Regions from separate parts of the Homo sapiens genome. Here region 1 is linked to region 2. Evidence: promoter capture Hi-C in human tissues and cell types (Jung and others, 2019). All regions are on one chromosome and are shown on one strand. The core of a region is centred on a gene start or on the middle of the fragment in contact, and the rest is flanking DNA. Distances in the headings are between cores, read along the strand shown.

Region 1 (3,250 bases), core at 620-3,119, 210 kb after region 2:
AAAAAAAAAAAAGGAAAGGAAAAGATGAGCCTGGAATTTCTTGCTCTGCCAGAAAATAAGGAATTGCTTAAGAATTGAGGAGGACAAGAAAAAGGGACGCAGAATCCAGTCATTAGAAGATAATTTGAGCACCAAAGTAAATAATGTTATAATGGATTATAACCCATTGAACACAACTGAATTCGTGATTGATTTATTTATATCATTATGTCCATAATGATACATGAATACATTAAAAACTTGATAGGGAATATACAGTTATATATTATAGTTATGCAGTATCAAAGTATCTACCCACAAATAGATATAGAATCAAAGAATCTACCCACAAAGTATTTCTTAATTACAAATGTAAGAAGAATAACATTATGGTGGAGGACACAACCAGACACCATAATAAAAAATCAAAGTAGACATCACCCATAATGCGACAGATTGAAATTATTTGTCACCAGATATGTTGCAATGAGAAGTCAAAGCATCTTCTGTGATATTCCTGCCAAAGCTGCATAACCAGAATCTGATTATGAAAAAACATCAGATAATCCCAAATGGAGAGAAATTTTAAAAACTCCCAACCTATGCTTTTCAAAAGTGACAAGGTCAAGGAGGTTGAGGAAAGACTGAGGAACTGTGTCAGGCTGTGATTGACTAAGGAGACATGACAACTAGTTGCAAAATGGCATTCAGGATTCCAAACTGGATTCTGAAATGAATATAATGAATATCATTGGTACTTATTGAGGAAACACTAATGGAAATGAGGATTAGATGGCCCTATTGCATCAATATTAATTTCCTGAATTTGAAGGTTTTATTTTGGTTATATAGTCAAATTGCCTTGCTTATAAGAGCTATATACTAAAATATTTCAGGTTTGGAACTTTAGGTCAGAAAATACTCTCAAATGTTCAAAATAGAGAAAATGCTCTGTACTTCCAACTTTTTGTTACATTTATAGTTATTAAAATTACATAACTGTATTATATATGCATATATATATACACATATATACACAATTGCATATACATATATAAATGATATATATAAAGCCAACAATGGACTCATACCTAAACTATGCAAGCCCTTCAAAAAAGACTTGATATTGCCAAAGCACTCAGCATCATGAAGCTTCACTGAAATGCAAATTAACACTACAATAAGAGAAGATGGCCAAATAAGAACAGCTCCAGTCTACAGCTCCCAGTGTGAGTGACACAGAAGATGGGTGATTTCTGCATTTCCAACTGAGGTACTGAGTTCATCTCACTGGGGAGTGCCAGACAGTGGGTGCAGGACAGTGGGTGTAGTGCACCGTGCATGAGCCAAAGCAGGGTGAGGCATTGCCTCACCTGGCAGGCACAATGGGTCAGGGAATTCCCTTTCCTAGTCAAAGAAAGGGGTGACACATGGCACCTGGAAAATCAGGTCACTCCCACCCTAACAAAGCACTTTTCCAATGGGCTCTACAAACTGCACACCAGGAGATTATATCCTGCACATGGCTCACAGGATCCTATGCCCACAGAGCCTCACTCATTGCTAGCACAGTAGTCTGAGCTCTAACTGCAAGGTGGCAGTGAGGCTGGGGGAGGGGTGCCCACCATTGCCAAGGCTTGAGTAGGTAAACAAAGTGGCCAGGAAGCTCAAACTGGGTGGAGCCCACCACAACTCACGGAGGCCTGCCTGCCTCTGTAGGCTGCATCTCTGGTGGCATGGCACAGACAAACAAAAAGAGCAGTAACCTCTCCAGACTTAAATGTCTCTGTCTGACAGCTTTGAAGAGAGTAGTGGTTCTCCCAGCACACAGCTTCAGATCTGAGAATGGGCAGACTGCCTCCTCAAGTGGGCCCCTGAACCCTGAGTAGCCTAACTGGGAGGCAATCCCCAGTAGGGAAGGACTGACACCTCACATGGCCGTGTACTCCTCTGAAACAAAACTTCCAGAGGAATGATCAGGCAGCAGCATTTGCGGTTCACCAATATCCGCTGTTCTGCAGCCACTGCTGCTGATACCCAGGCAAACAGGGTCTGGAGTGGACCTCCAGCAAATTCCAACAGACCTGCAGCTGAGGGTCCTGACTGCTAGAAGGAAAACTAACAAACAGAAAGGACATCCACACCAGAAACCCATCTGTACATCACCATCATCAAAGACCAAAGGTACATAAAACCACAAAGATGGGGAAAAAACAGAGCCAAAAAACTGGAAACTCTAAAAACCAGAGCACCTCTCCTCCTCCAAAGGAACAGAGCTCCTCACCAGCAATGGAACAAAGCTGGATGGAGAATGACTTTGGTGAGTGGAGAGAAGAAGGCTTCAGAAGATCAAACTACTCCAAGCTAAAGGAGGAAGTTTGAACCAATGGCAAAGAAGTTAAAAACCTTGAAAAAAATTAGACAAATGGATAACTGGAATAATCAATGCAGAGAAGTCCTTAAAGGACCTGATGGAGCTGAAAACCATGGCACGAGAACAACATGATGAATGCACAAGCCTCCATAGCTGATGCGATCAACTGGAAGTGAGAGTATCAGTGATGGAAGATGAATGAAATGAAGTGAGAAGGGAAGCCTAGAGAAAAAAGAATAAAAAGAAATGAACAAAGCCTCCAAGAAATATGGGACTATGTGAAAAGACCAAATCTGCGTCTGATTGGTGTACCTGAAAGTGACAGGGAGAATGGACCAAGCTGGAAAACACTCTGCAGGATATTATCCAGGAGAACTTCCCCAATTTAGCAAGGCAGGCCAACATTCACATTCAGGAAATACAGAGAATGCCACAAAGATACTCCTTGAGAAGAGCAACTCCAAGACACATAATTGTCAGATTCACTAAAGTTGAAATGAAGGAAAAAATATTAAGGGCACCAGAGAGAAAGGTTCGGTTACCCCCAAAGGGAAGCCCATCAGACTAACAGCTGATCTCTCAGCAGAAACTCTACAAGCTAGCACAGAGTGGGGGCCAATATTCAACATTCTTAAAGAAAGAATTTTCAACCCGGAATTTCATATCCAGCCAAACTAAGCTTCATAAGTGAAGGAGAAATAAAATCCTTTACAGAAAAGCAAATGCTGAGAGATTTTATCACCATCAGGCCTGCCCTAAAAGAGCTCCTGAAGTAAGCACTAAACATGGAAAGGAACAACTGGTACCAGCCACTGCAAAAACATGCCAAATTTTAAAGACCATCGAGGCTAGGAAGAAACTGCATCAAGTAATGAGCAAAATAACCAACTAACATCA
Region 2 (3,339 bases), core at 712-3,211:
AGTGATATATAGAGCCTCATGAGCGCTAAATGTCATCTCCAGTTCAGGTCTGCACAACTGTGTTTGTTCTGTGCCATGGGTCTGTTTAATGATTTCCCTACCTCCCATTCACCACTGAAGCACATGCCTGTTGTTCTGCCTATAATTCCCCTTCCTTGCTGTGCAATATTTCATTCCATTATTTCTGACACAGACCAAAAAAGCAATAGAAACAGCAGTGTCTGGAGGCAAGTGGGAGCTGGAGAAGCCATAGTTTCTGAGATCTTACCCACTTAATTCTCTGAGATTGGCTCTTTCCTCAGTTATACTGAGTAGGTTTCAGCTCTTCAGTGACAGAGAGGGGAGAAACCCTAGCTTTTATTTCTTCTCTTGAGAATGTACAACCCTGTTATTTTGTGAACAGTGTGGTGTAGATTCAGAGTGAGAAATGTTTTTAGGATTTATTTTATTTTGCTAAAACTGTTCTCAAGGCAGCTCTGGTGTAAGTGAGAATATACCACAGCGGGCGTCAGAAGATCTCAGTTCAAATCCCAGCCTGCCATTTATGAGCTGTGGGACACTGGACAGGTCATCTGTTCTCCTAGAGTCTCCCTTTCCCCATTTGGAAAATATGAAATAATATTCTCAGCCGTCCAGTGTTTTTCACGGGGTTTAATGGAAAAAGGTGTGTATGTTTACTTAGTTAATTGATAACCGGTTTAGCCATTTAAGATGAATGAGTTTGTTAGCTGCTTTATGTTTAGGCAGCTGTAATGTTAGTACTACATTAAAATATTTCAAAAGGATCTCATTTTCAAGGAAAATGATCTAGTGTTTGAGAAAGCATTATAGTGTTGCAGTCTTGCAGATCCTTAGCTCAGCTAGGTCCGAGTTGTCTTATGCAGGAAGAATTAGGCACACAGACACTGGAGAGTGAGTGGAGTAGAATTTATTAAGTGAAAGGAAAACTCTCAGCAAAGAGAGAGGCCCTGAAAGCAGGTTGCAGATTGCCACTTCACAGTTGAATACCAGGACTTTTATAGAAAAGCTGATGAGGCTGGGATACTTATTTGCATAAGGCGTGAATTCCTGGTGTTTCCACCCCTTCCTTCCATTGCGCGTGTGGGCTCTTAGTCTAAGCCACTCCATATTGATTTATTTCCCTTCCTGCGCATGTGTTAAAGGTAGGAATTTTTCACTGTGGGCATATTTAGGCAAGCTCCCTGTGCAAGTTCCCTTATCTGCACAAAACATCTAGTGTAAGTACTTGGGGTTTTTGTGGATTGGGCAATGACCTGGAAGGGTTGGAGGTTCTCTGGGGACCCTTCCCTTACTGCCTGCCTAATGCAAGCTGGCTAACTCCTCTCAATAGGATAAACATTATTTTATGTACAAGGAATATAATACACAGATTGCCCTCAAAGTCATATTTCCAACTGCTCATCAATCTAAAAATCCAAAATTTTGAATAATTTTTTGATGAAATAATTTATTTCATTGTTTCTCAATTTTGGCTGCACAGTGGAACCACCTGGGCTGTTTGAAAAAACCTAGGCCTAGCCAGGCACGGTGGCTCATGCCTGTAATCCCAGCACTTAGGGAGACCAGCCTGGCCAACATGGTGAAACCCTGTCTCTGCTAAAAATACAAAATCACCTGGGCGTAGTTGTGCATTCCTGTAATCCCAGCCACGCCAGAAGCTGAGGCAGAATCGTTCGAATCCAGGAAGTGGAGGCTGCAGTGAGTTGAGATCTTGCCATTGCACTCCAGCCTGGGCAACAAGAGCGAAACTCCATCTCAAGGAAAAACAACAACAACAACAACAAAATCCTGGGCTCTGCTTCAGACTAGTTAAACCAGAATCTCCAGGGTGGGGCACCGGAAAGAACAAGAAAAAAGAACACCTTATTTTTATCTTCTTCAGTGAGCCAATGTTCATTCAAAAGAGAGATTAAAGTGCTTTTTGCTGACTAGTCACAGTCAGAGTCAGAATCACAGGTGGATTAGTAGGGAGTGTTATAAAAGCCTTGAAGTGAAAGCCCGCAGTTGTCTTACTAAGAAGAGAAGCCTTCAATGGATCCAGCTGTGGCTCTGGTGCTCTGTCTCTCCTGTTTGTTTCTCCTTTCACTCTGGAGGCAGAGCTCTGGAAGAGGGAGGCTCCCGTCTGGCCCCACTCCTCTCCCGATTATTGGAAATATCCTGCAGTTAGATGTTAAGGACATGAGCAAATCCTTAACCAATGTAAGTATGCTTTATGTTCCTCCAGTAATGTACAAGGTGTATTTAACCTCACAATTCTTAAAGTTTTATTTCATTTTAAAGTGATAAATGATAATTGTATATATTAATGGGGTACAATATTACATTTTGATACATGTATAGATTGTGAATTGATCATATCAGGGTAATTAGCATATCCATCATCTCAAATATTTGTCATTTCTTTGTAGTGAGAACATTTAAAATCCTCTTTTTTAGCTGTTTTGAAATATACAGTACATTAATATTAATTATAGTCACCTTGCTGTCCAATAGAACACCCGAGCTTATTCCTCCTATCTAAGTGTAACTCTGTACCTGTTGACCAACGTATCCCCTTATTTGGCCCATCTCCACCTGCCAGCCTCTGGTAGCCACCATTCTAATCTCTACTTCTCTGAGTTTAACTTTTTAAGATTCCACATAGAAGTGAGATCATATATGATATTTGCCTCTCTCTGCCTGGCTTATTTAATTAATATGATGTTCTGTAGATTCATCCATGCCGTCATAAATAAGAATATTTTTTCCTCTTTAAAAGGCTGAATAGCATTTCATTGTACATATATGTCACATACAAAATCCATTAATTTATTGATGAACACTTAGGTTGTTTCCATATCTTGGCTATTGTCAATAGCACTGCAATAAACATGGAAGTACAGACATGTCTTCCACATACTGACTTCAATTCCTTTGGGTATATACTGGTAGTGGGATTGCTGGATCATCTGATAGTTCTATTTTTGTTTTTTTTAGGAACATCCATACTGTTTTCTCAAATCACAATGCTAATTTACATACCCAAGGTTCACTTTATTCCACATCTTTGTCAACACTTGTTATCTTTTTATCTTTTTGATAATAATAATATCTTATCTATGAGTTGTGATGAGTTATCTCATTGTGGTTTTAATTTGCATTTCTCTGATGATTAAATTTGTTGAGTATTTAAAAAATATATCTTGGCCATTTGTATGTCTTTTTTTGAAAAATGTCTACTCAAATCCTTTGCCCATTTAATTAATTAATTAATTAATTAATTAATAGAGACAGGGTTTTGCTCTGTTGTAGGATGGAGTGTAGTGATGGGATCATGGT

Evidence for each region. The method cuts DNA at HindIII sites, captures the fragments that hold promoters and counts their contacts. A contact is called where the count stands out against the background at its distance.
Region 1: a fragment that was not itself captured here is called in contact with the fragment with the promoter of CYP2C18 in region 2 in 5 of the 25 tissues and cell types used here (adrenal gland, hippocampus, small bowel and 2 more).

What each region holds. Positions count from the first base shown.
Region 1 is chr10:94,891,205-94,894,454 of GRCh38, forward strand. No RefSeq gene overlaps it. Among named protein-coding and RNA genes, the nearest start is that of CYP2C9, 46 kb to the right of the region's middle. The HindIII fragment of the contact is 5,262 bases long and covers 1-3,250 here.
Region 2 is chr10:94,681,768-94,685,106 of GRCh38, forward strand. CYP2C18 (cytochrome P450 family 2 subfamily C member 18) reads left to right here and starts at 1,962. Exons shown (of 9, transcript NM_000772.3): 1 at 1,962-2,220. The coding sequence starts at 2,053. The HindIII fragment of the contact is 11,159 bases long and covers 1-3,339 here.